Linked DNA regions of Homo sapiens: all the other regions are linked to region 3. Evidence: promoter capture Hi-C in human tissues and cell types (Jung and others, 2019). All regions are on one chromosome and are shown on one strand. Each heading gives the region's core, a stretch centred on a gene start or on the middle of the fragment in contact. The rest is flanking DNA. Distances are from core to core; before and after follow the strand shown. Region 1 overlaps SMG6 (SMG6 nonsense mediated mRNA decay factor). Region 2 overlaps SMG6 (SMG6 nonsense mediated mRNA decay factor). Region 3 holds the start of SCARF1 (scavenger receptor class F member 1).

The links. The method cuts DNA at HindIII sites, captures the fragments that hold promoters and counts their contacts. A contact is called where the count stands out against the background at its distance.
Region 1: a contact is called between a fragment that was not itself captured here and the fragment with the promoter of SCARF1 in region 3, in 1 of the 25 tissues and cell types used here (dorsolateral prefrontal cortex).
Region 2: a fragment that was not itself captured here is called in contact with the fragment with the promoter of SCARF1 in region 3 in 1 of the 25 tissues and cell types used here (dorsolateral prefrontal cortex).

The regions. Positions count from the first base shown.
Region 1 is chr17:2,220,470-2,224,547 of GRCh38, forward strand. The region is part of intron 10 of SMG6 (SMG6 nonsense mediated mRNA decay factor); the gene reads right to left. Among named protein-coding and RNA genes, the nearest start is that of SMG6, 81 kb to the right of the region's middle. The HindIII fragment of the contact is 7,215 bases long and covers 1-4,078 here.
Region 2 is chr17:2,262,165-2,265,742 of GRCh38, forward strand. All of the region lies in intron 8 of SMG6 (SMG6 nonsense mediated mRNA decay factor), which reads right to left. Among named protein-coding and RNA genes, the nearest start is that of SMG6, 40 kb to the right of the region's middle. The HindIII fragment of the contact is 5,334 bases long and covers 1-3,578 here.
Region 3 is chr17:1,643,686-1,647,464 of GRCh38, forward strand. SCARF1 (scavenger receptor class F member 1) reads right to left here and starts at 2,047. Exons shown (of 11, transcript NM_003693.4): 1 at 1,912-2,047; 2 at 1,493-1,554; 3 at 1,149-1,250; 4 at 1-282. The coding sequence starts at 2,012. It overlaps RILP (Rab interacting lysosomal protein), which reads right to left. Exons shown (of 8, transcript NM_031430.3): 7 at 3,221-3,304; 8 at 2,465-2,934. The coding sequence ends at 2,757. The HindIII fragment of the contact is 19,188 bases long and covers 1-3,779 here.

The sequences.
Region 1 (4,078 bases), core at 1,072-3,571, 580 kb after region 3:
AAAATAAAAAATTAGCTGAGCGTAGTGGCATGCGCTTGTAGTCCCAGCTACTTGGGAGGCTGAGACAGGAGGATCACTTGAGCCCAAGAGTTCGAGGCTGCAGTGAGCTATGATCATGCCACTGTACTCCAGCCTGGGCAACACAGTGAATATACATAACAATAAAAACATTCATATGAGAACATGATTCAGTTTATACTAGGTTGGTACAAAAGTAATTGCACTTTTTGCCATTACTATTATTTGTATGTAAATTACAAATGTTTACAAAGAATTTTATAGCTTTGTATACTTGTAAGTAAAAATAGTAGAATCAAACATTGTATAGTCAGTATCTTTTCAACTGTGTAAAAACTCCTTGAATATTTATACATCGTATAGGAAAGAATGTCACTGCCAGAAGTTGGTTTCTACTTTACCTTTTTTAGTACTTTCAATGAAACCCAAAATGTTAAATCCTTTAAAAAAAATCATTTAGTTTTCATAAATAGGACAGAATTGCTCCAGTTAGGTGAATGTAAAAATATGATATATGAGTAGGGAAATAAAAAAGTATTTCTAGTCAGGAAGAAAGGACAGAGAGTAAAAGATGAAAGATTCAAGAGACCAGAAAGGACTGAACTTACGCTGTTCTATAGAAATTTACTTTCCAGAGCCCCAATGATATTTACTCCAGGGTTAAGAGCTGATATGGTTTGGATTGTGTCTCCACTCAAATCTCATGATGAATTGTAATTTCCAGTGCTGGAGGTGGGGCCTGGTAGGAGGTGACTGCATCCTGGGGTGGTTTCTGATGGTTTAGCACCATCCTCCTGGTGCTATCTCCTGATGGAGCTCTCGGGACATCTGGTTGTTTTAAAGTCTGTAGCCCCTCCCCCTTCACTCTCTTCCTCCTGCTCCAGCCATGGAAGACGTGCCTCCTTCCTCTTTGCCTTCCACCATGATTGTGATTCTCCTGAGGCCTCCCTAGCCATGTTTCCTGTACAGCCTGTGGAACTATGAGCCAATTAAACTTCTTTTCTTTATAAATTACCCAGCCTCAGGTATGTCTTTATGGCAGTATGAGAAAGGATTAATACAACAGTAGATACCAAAGCACATTTAATGGATTTTACTTTAATGCCAGATGTAAAATATGCATTTGGAAATTATGCTTTCAAGAAAGTCACCTTAACAAAAAACAAGGAAAGACAGTAAGATTATGAGCAGTAACCTAGTTAACAGATGCCCCTGCCCTTGCCATTCAATCTTCATTGTCCAGGCTGACCTGCTGACAGATTATTCTTTTTTTTGAGACGGAGTCTTGCAATGTTGCCCAGGCTGGAGTGCAATGGGGTGATCTCGGCTCACTGCAAGCTCCACCTCCCGGGTTAACGCCAGTCTCCTGCCTCAGCCTCCCAAGTAGCTGGGATTACTACCATGCCTGGCTAATTTTTGTATTTTTTAGTAAAGACAGGGTTTCGCCATGTTGGCCAGGCTGGTCTTGAATTCCTGAGCTCAAGTGATCCACCTGCACTGGCCTCCCAAAGAGCTGGGATTACAGACGTCGGCCACGGCACCTGGCCTCAAATTATTCTTTGACTTGAACTTGATATAACGCATGTTTACTGAGAAGTTACAACAGGTCAGGGACTGTTTTAGATGTTCACAATGTATCAGTGGATAAAACAGACCAGAGACCCCTATAAGCAGGGAGCTTACATTCTTGCAGAATAGTAGAGGAAAATAAATAATAAACATATACACATTAATTATCTAGTATTTAGAAAATAAATCAATAGAATTGGAAGATAAAGAGTGCAGGTTTGGAGTAGAATGCAGCAGTGTTAAATAGGATGGTTGGGGCAGGTCTCACAGAAGTAACATTAAGCAAAGACTTATAGGAGGCGAGGTATTCACCAGACAGATGGCTGGATGCAGAACATTCCAAACAGAGAAAACAGCTAATGCGAAGGGCCAAAGGTGGGAGAGTCCCCAGCTTAGCAGAGAACTTGCAAGAAGGGTAGTGTGGCTGAAGCAGAGTAACCAAGCCATGGGGAGAACAGTCGTGAATGAGCTCAGAGAGAGGCAATGCGGGGGCGGGGGGGGGGGGGGGGGGCAGGAGAAGAGGTCCATATATGAAGGCCTTGTAAATAATGTGGCTTTTACACTGAGTGAAATGGGAAGTCAGTGAAGGATTTTGAACACAGCAGACTCTGTATGTAATGTGTCTGTGTGTGCATGTTTGGGAAGGAACGAGAGAGGTAAGGGGTACAAAAAGAGACCACTTAGGAGTTTCAAGACTTTCTTTCCAAGTTTAAAAAGAAGTTTTATCCACAAGGGGTATTCAGGCCATGTTTGCAAACACAGGTTTTCTCTTCCAATGAGGAATATTGAAGAATGTGTCAATGGCCTACAACTGTATCCCTAGCAGGCATCTGAAAAATAATACTTACGAAACATTTTCCTCTGCTCATTGCCCTGACATGAGTTCTGGGCATCACCCTCTCTCAGGGGAGAGGTGAAAAGAGGTTATGTGGAACAGACAGTGATAACAGGATGACGTCACAGGTGTGCCTCAAAGAAGTCCCTGGTGAGCTGGGCTCATAACTACTCTGCAGTGATTTATTCGACCCTGCCAGCTCCAGCTGGAGAAGAGATGCAGAAAGCTGACACAGCCTAAAGCCCTGGGCAGGCATTATAAGATCTTTCTCCCTGCAGTCCCCTGCCAGCTCCTCCCCTCTTTCAACCACTGATCCTTGCCTCAGAAGCCAAAGTGTGAACAGCACGTGTCCGGATTTCAGAAACCTGCCCAGCAGTTGGAAATTCCCTGCAGCGTGTCAACTGCTACATCTGCTGTTGGCACTTGGGGCAAAGGGATCACACGCGCATATTTTCTGAACATAAGCTTCAAGATATGAGTCTTATATTTGAAGAGGGGACTAAACAAGCCAGAACACTCCAATTACAGTAAATGCATTCCTAAATAGACGACAATCTGCCTTCTGAAAAGGAAACTGAGACATACAAGCAAACCGAATAGCACTAAGAACAGCAGTAGTCAAGAACAAAAGCACAGAGAACCCTGACTAATGGAAAGGATTTCATGGGCCAGCAAGGTTCACCAGATATATAATGTGATGTAGCTGAAACAACAGAGTACTCTTTTCCAAATCTCTAACTCACATCTTTTTGTCAATAAATGGCTCCTATCACTTCAGCTGCAGCCTTTCCTCTCCACTCCTTTGATCTTTCTTCCCCACCCAATTAGCCCTCTAAGTGATATTCTATACACTGGACACCTCTTGGAAAAATGAAAAAATGTGAGCCCAATGACACCATTTGCCATAAGACTGAGCTGTAAATGGGCAGGAGCTGGAAAAGAAACTAATCTTTGGAAGAGCAAACTACATGCCCTTGCCACCCTGGATGTAGGTGCCCAGTCACACTGCTCATGGGCATCACAGGCAGAGCAAAAAAAAAGAAAAGAAAAGAAAGAAAGTCTGAGTAAGTCTGATGGAACAAGGAAATCCCAGCTTCCTCTGGTAGTACGGCAGACTAGACACCTAGATCCATTCTCCCAATCAAACAGCTCATTATTCTGAAAAAAAGAGTATGTTAAACATCTTTTTGAAAAGCATTCGTGAGCTAGTAAAATAAAAGAAAATCCTTTGGTCAGAGATTGAATAAAGATGGGAAACCAGATAGGTAAGTGTGGCATTACAAACAGCCTTTACCCTAAGAACATTTGCTACCTGATGAACTCGAGCTTTGCTTTCCAAGGCTGCATGGACACAGCCAAGATCCTTATCATAAAGCTAGGGTCCCACAAGGCTACACCCCAAATACACCATTTCAGATTATGGAGTCTCTAAAATGCCATGTTGAATATATTTTAGAGAAATAAAAGACAAGCTCACAAGTATATTTGGGAAATAAGAAACCATAAAGAAAGTCAAAGCAGATTTGATTTAAAAAATATATGGAAATAAAAAATTTATTAAAATTAAAAACATTGTCAATGGGGCATATTTAATAGAAGGTTAGATATAGCTATGGAAAGGTTCAATGAACTGAAAGATAGTTAAGGAAATTATCT
Region 2 (3,578 bases), core at 312-2,811, 620 kb after region 3:
GTGTGAAAGTCAAGAATAGGACTTAGTGCCAATGATTACAACACAAAGCATAACTTATTCCTAAGCCAAGCTGGGCTTGGCTCAGAAAGCTTCCCAGAATGATGGAAGGCATGACTTTAGAGTGAGTCAACCTTTGCTAATACATAAAATAAAGCAGAGAAAGAACTATTTGAAGGATTCACTTCTAAGCTTGAGCCAAATCAAAAGCTCAAATCTATCTACATTGTGATGAATCTTCAGTTCCAACTGAGTGATCAGACAGCACCAATGTGGACATCTGTACCATGGCCCAAGACATTATAATGACAGAATCTTGGCTGGGAATCTCAGAAGCAACCATTCCTTGCAGTTTCGAACCATGCTATGTTTTTATCCATGTTGTTCCTTCTGCCAGAAAAGTCAGCTGACCACATCTACCTAAAATACTTCTTTGACTTGCAAAATTAAGGACAAAGATTACCTTTCTAGGTCGCTCTACCTGTTCACCCTGAGTTAATCTCTTTTACCTCTGTCCAGTGTATATATTTCTATTATTACATTTATAACACTTTATTGCAAGTATTTATTTACATATCCTTTTTTCTTACTAGACTGTGTTTTTGAGGGAAGGACCAACATCACTTACTTTTCTGTGTGCAGTACCTAGAATAACAATATATAAAGGTGCTCCATGAATATTTATGGAAATGACCTGAATTGGGACAGGGAAAAACTTGATTTCCTCAGAGACTACTAGCTGGCCTCAGAGGAGGTTTTACAGCAAAATGGGCAAGTGAAAAGAGAAAAAATATCTATATAAAACTTTGAAGCCACTTATTTTAGGCAACATACAAAGGTATATACTATACTGTAAGATAAAATAGATAAAAACAAGAAAGAGAAGCCAAAGAGAAAAAGATAAAGAGGTCACCAAACAGTAAGGTCACGACCGAAGATAAACGCCCTTTACACTTACTAAAGGAAGTTTGGCTACAACCTCTGGAACAATTAAAATAGAGAATCATTCTGGGTTAAAAATTCACAAATTTGCTATTATAACAATCTTACAAATGTGCATGAGGTTGAAGAAACCCATTTTCTACTAAGAGCAGAAATTTCTTCCACAGGCTTCCACAAAGACACCACGCAACACAAACAGCAATCCTTCTCTAGGTCTCTTTTTTATGTATCTTCATAGAGGCTGATGACACACTCAAGTACAAATCAGTAAAAGCAGTACTACTAGTAACCAATGTTACCTAGTTACATAGCTCTCTGATGGTTCTAAGCATGAACGACACGGAAAAAACAGTAGCAGGAGAGGTGCCTAGTGATTTCTATAATAAATGCTCAACAAATTTTGGATCAGAAGATGGAAGACAACTCAAAAAACCACTTAAGCTCTTAAAAATAAAAATGTGTGGTTAATACATTTTATAGGAACCAAAACATCAGAAAGACAGAGGGTACAGATAGTATTTTAAATTCTTTCTGGTCTAGAGAGTCTATCCACTCATACTAGGGAGAAAAAAAAGAGCACAGTTCACTTCAATACTAAATATTTATGAGTAAAGTGAAAGGCTTCCAAGAGGGGAAGAACCTGGAGTTTCCCCCTGGAGTCAAACAAACAGCCCGCAGACTGGGGAAGGATCACGAGCCAAGAAAACAACGATTTCATATTCTCTATCTTAGCTCAAATACATCAGATCTAAGATGTTGAAAAGAGGGTAGAGAGATGAAATTCTGGCACCTTTAAGAGCAAAGAGGGATTTTACAGAATGATCAAACTATGGATACAGCTCCCCAAGAGAACAGTCAGAAACAAAAACCAATATAGGAAGTTGGTGAGAAACGCAACACGGGAAAAACATAAAGGGTAGTGCAGTCTTACCCCACATAACAGGCAGTGTGTTACTATATAAAGTGAGCTGCTCCCAGAGTAACATCACCTCACTACTCCTTCCTATAGCAGCTGCAGATTGAACAAGGATCCAATGTACAGGTCTCATTCTTATTTGGAAGGCTCTTCACAGACCACAAGCTGGATCCTAAGGGACGATTTATAGTACCCCCTCACGTACATTCCAGTTGGCTGGAACTCAGCAGCTGATTGCTCCCTTGTCTAACTTGGCAAGGAGCCAAAGGAGGACTTTTCTCAGTCAACTCTCCCAAGCTGGAAAATTCTCTAATGCCAGAGTTCTGGCTTAAGTCGGGATATCAGGTTATTCATGAGATGCCAAAACTACATCTTTACATTGGCTTTGAACAAGTCCCTCAAGTACACCATACAGATTCCCACAGACCTCAAAATCATCTGGATATTAAGGCCAAAGATGGCTACTCCATCTCTCACATAGAGAGGAATGTGCTTTTCACAACACCAGCAACATCAAAACAAACCTTTCATAAATCACAAATCAATCTCAATTCTTAAAATAGGTGTCAAGCAACAAACGCAACATTAAATTACTTCCTAGGCTGGACACAGTGACTCATAGCTATAATCTCAGCACTTTGGGAGGCTGAGGTGGGTGGATCGCTTGAGCCCAGGAGTTTGAGACCAGCCTGACCCACATGGTGAAACCCCGTCTCTACGGAAAATACAAAAATTAGCTGGGCATGGTGGTGTGTGCCTGTAGTCCCAGCTACTCAGGAGGCTGGGAGGGGAGGATTGCTTGAGCCCAGGAGGCGAAGGTTGCAGTGAGCTGAGATCGCGCCACTGCATTCCAGCCTGGGTGACAGAACGAAACCCCATCTCAAAAAAAAAAAAAAAATTTCCTTAAAATCTTGTATTCCACCCTACTGAAAACTCTCCCTATTCCACTAGCTACTCAAATTCTCTCACTATTGTTAATCCCTAGGCCATCAAGATCCAAATCCCAAGTCAGGTTCTCTGAGAGGAAATGAAGGAGTAAACCTTAACAAAATGTTTTTGACCTTGTCAAGCTTCAAAAGTAGTGGTTCTCAACCAGAATATGACCACCCATCCCAGGAACTGTTTGGAAGTATGTGTGGGCCGTTACTGGCATCTAATGAGCAGAGCCAGGAACGCTAAACATCCTGCAAGGTCAGACCTGCATAATGAAGAACTGTCGGCCGGGCACAGTGGCTCAAGCCTGTAATCCCAGCACTTTGGGAGGCTGACCACCTGAGGTCAGGAGTTCGAGACCAGACTGGCCAACATGGCGAAACACCATCTCTTCTAAAAATACAAAAATTAGCAGCGGGTGGTGACAGGAGCCTGTAGTCCCAGCTACTGGGGAGGCTGAGGCAGGAGAAACGCTTGAACCTGGGAGGCGGAGGTTGCAGTGAGCTGAGATTGCGCCACTGCACTCCAGCCTGGACAACAGAGCAAGACTGCCTCTCAAAAAAAAAAAACTGTCTGCTTAAAAGGCGATAACATTCTCATTAACAATCAATTTCCTAACAGAAGAACCTTATCATTAACTGCATTCACCTCTCCCAGCTTTTACAGCAGTGGTAAATTTTTTCTGTAAAAGGTCACAGAAAATAATTTAGGCTTCGTGAGCCACGTACATCTCTGTCTCGTGTTGCTCTTTTTAAACAACTCCTGACATAAGAATGTAAAAACCATTCTT
Region 3 (3,779 bases), core at 797-3,296:
GCTTGCACACGCAGGCGCCCGTGGCCTGCTCGCAGCGCGCCGCCGCGGTGTTGCACTGGCACGGGCGGCGGCACGTGGACGACCACCAGCCGGGTTCGCAGTGGCACACGCCGGTCGCGGGGTCGCAGCGCCCGTGGGGGCCGCAGGCGCACGGGAACTCGCAGCGGGCTCCCCAGCGGTCGGCCTGGCACTGGCACGCGCCCGTGGCTGGCTCGCACTGGCCGTGCGGGTGGCAGGGGCAGCTCTCACGGCAGTCGGGGCCCCAGTACTGGCCCGGGCAGCCTGCGGGGGTGGGGACGGGAGGGGTCAGCGGGCTCAGGGCCGCGCGCAGACCCTTACCCTGCGTCCCCTTCCTCAAGGAAAAGGGGCGCTGGGCCCATCCTCCAAGAGCCGGGGACAGACCCTCAGAACATCCGGCAGCCTGTCCTGGGCAACACTCACTTCCTGCTCCGCTCTGACCTACAGAAAACCCTTAGCCATTAGTGGGAGGCTCAGCCTGCCACTTCACATTCCAGAACACACTCAGAGATCCTGAGTGGGCAGGGGACTTGCCCAGAGCGTGGCACCGAGGTTGGTGGGCCTTCCTCCATGCCTGCTCCTCCCTGCCGAGATGGATCTCTGCTGGGCTGGAGGAGAGCTGGCTTTCTCCTGATCTCAGGCCTGGATACTGCCCGCCAGGGTGTCGGGAGAAGCCACCTTTCCCCTAGTGATTCCTTGATTCCTGATGCCCACCCTCTGGCTCTCCTGCTTCCCAACCCCTTTCCCTTCCCTCTCTTTCTGCCAGAGAGGGCAGAGAGCCCAGCCAGGGGCCCCCTTCCATCCACTGCCCATGTATAAGGTATATGTGGGAAAGGCAAGTAATACACTCATTTTACAATGAAGGGGAATCACAGGTTTTCTGAGAAGTGGAAGAGGAAGATGCTCAGGTGGGCAGTGCTTTGTGGATGTGGGTAAAAACCCGGTGACTCAGGTCATCTCCCGGGAGTGTGTGTCACTTCCTGTCTCTGGACCGCAATTCCTCAGTGAAGCTGGGGGGGATTCTGGCCCTGCTGTCCTGAGGCTGCATGGCTACCTGCCTCGCCTGCTCCCACACCACTGCCCCCGTACCCAGCTCTGCCCAGCAACTTCATCTGGCCCTTGAGACTCACGGGAGCTGCAGTGGGCCCCAAAGAATCCAGGCTTGCATCGACAGAGGCCCGGCTTCACACACACCTCGTCTTTCTGGCAGGCGTCCGGCCCCTCACAGATGGCTGAAAGACACCCCACCCAGGTTGGAAAGACGGGAGCAGGACCAGGGGACACCCCTGCCCTCTCACTGGCTCCAGGGGCCATGCCTCCTCAAGAGGTGCCCCTTCAGGCCTGGGGGTGCGTCACAGGAGAAACCCTGACTCCTGGTATCAGGAGGGGCAGGCCCCATGGGGTAGGAAGGAAGGGTTGTCACTGGGCTACGGCCTCCCTTCTCCTTGGCTGAGGGTCTGTCCTGGCTACTCACGGATGGTGCATTCTTGATCCTTCTGCCTCCAGCCTGCGCAGCACTGCAGCTCAGCAGAGGGGCTGTGGGGCAAAAAGGGGTCAGCCGGACATGGTGGGGGGTGCAGCCTGGCCCTGAGGAAGGTGGATCACTGTCTCTGGCTGCAGTGGGGGAGGCTGCCTTAGCCCCCTGGGGAGGCCTAATGGATCTTTACAGCTAGGGTCCCCAGCCCCTCCCCTCTCCTTCCCTGACCCTTCCACCATCTGCCCTGGCTGGCCACTACCTGCCAGACCGCCATCAGCAGTCCCTTCCTTTCAGCCTAAGCCCCCTTCCTAGTCTCCTCCTTCCCCTAACGGCCTCAACACCGGTTCAGCCACCCGCATCAGACTCCCACGAGACCCACCTGCTGGCCACACGCATCAGACTCCCACGAGACCCACCTGCTGGCCACACAGACGTGCTGCCCTTTGGGGTCCAGCTCGGACCCCTGAGTCCCCCGAGTCCAGAGCAGCAGCAGCGGGAGCAGCAGCCCCAGCCCCATGGCAGGCAGCTCGGTGGGAGCGCTCGGGTTCGTCTGGCCCCCACAGCTCCCAACCCCCTCCCTGCTTCCTCTCAGGGCTTTTCCTGAGGAAACCAGGCCGGAGGGGCGGGCTGCCACGAGGCACCTCCCTGAGAGGGAGGGGGTGGCTGGAAAGACTGACACTCAAAAAAAGAAAGGGAAAGAAAGGCAATGGCAGGGCTGACTGGCCTGGGCCTGGAAGGGCCAGAAGAATGAAGTTGCAGGTCCCTGGGTGCCGGGGCCAGGGAAGGGGGTGGACTGAGGCTGGGAGCCACGGCTTTCCATCAGGCCACACTCCCAAAGCAAGGCCTGAGCTGCAAGAAGCCACCCCACCCAGTGACTGAGCAAGGAGACCAGCGAGGACCCCTCAGCCTGCCTCTGCTCCTGGCAGGGTTGGGAGGTGGCACAGACATGGACAGACAGGCGAGGAACAGTTTCTGTGTATTACGGGCAGTTCTTTATTACATGAGCTCAGGCCGTCTGCACAAAGCCCTGGGAGCTAGGCAGTCAGCTCTCATTTCATGGATGGGGAAACTGAGACTCAGAGAGGCACTCTTATATCTGGCCCCAGAGGCTCGGTACAGAGACGTAGAGAGGGAGGCGGGCTGAGACCCCGTCCTGCCCTGATGCAGGCCAGGATTGGGGCAGACCCCTGGCGAGGGCTGTGAAGGCGGGAGCCCTGTCCTCATTTGAGGCCACACATCCTTCCACAGCCAGACCCCTAAGTCAGGCCTCTGGGGCGGCTGAGGCCCCCAGACAAAGGTGTTCGTGGAGGGCAGAACAGGGCGGATCAGGAGCTGGAGACTGTGGTTGGGCCTCCTCTTCTCCCCCTAGCTTGCTGGGTGCAGGGCTGCTGGTCTCATCCTCAGAGGATTCAGCTTTACCCCGATACCATAGGCCAAAGCTGGAGAGAGACAGCCAGAGGCACTTTGAGCCAGGAAGCCAGAGAGGTCAAGGATATGGGTGAGGGCAGGGGATGGTGAGAAAAGGGGAGAGGGGGAAGAAAGGGCAGCCTGAGGGAGTGTGAAGGTGATGGGGGCCAGGGCCAGAGAAGCAGGAGGGGACGGTGTGCTTAGAGCCAAGCACAGCAGGGTGACGGGCAGAGAAGCGGGAAAGGGGATCCTGAGAAGGACCAGCCAGGGCCCTTCCTCCCTCCCCACACTCTTGCCTTTCCCCTTTCCCCAACATACAAACTCTGTATTTTGGACTCCGGGGGTGGGGGATGGTCTCCCTTGTCATCGGAGAGCAGGATCCATGGGCCAGCCTCATCCTCACTGAGACAGAGGAGAGAGGAGAAGTGAGGGCCATTGATCAAGGCCCTGAGGGACAACAGGAATCCAGCAGGGGGGATGGAGGGACTGCAGGGCCCCCGGGGCTGGAGAGAAGGCAACCCTGGGGAGATGCAGGATGTCGAGCCTTTAATTTTTAATTTTTTTTTTTTTGAGACAGGGTCTCACTCTGTCGCCCAGGCTGGAGTGCAGTGGTGCGATCTCAGCTCACTGCAACCTCCGCCTCCCAAGTTCAAGCGATTCTCCTGCCGCAGCCTCCTGAGTAGCTGGGATTATAGGCACATGCCACCATGCCCGGCTAATTTTTGTATTTTTAGTAGAGACGGAGTTTCACCATGTTGGCCACGCTGGTCTCGAACTCCTGACCTCAGGTGATCTACCCACCTTAGCCTCTCAAAGTGCTGGGATTACAGGCGTGAGCCACCGCGCCCTGCCAAGGGTTTATTTTATAGCTTGACAC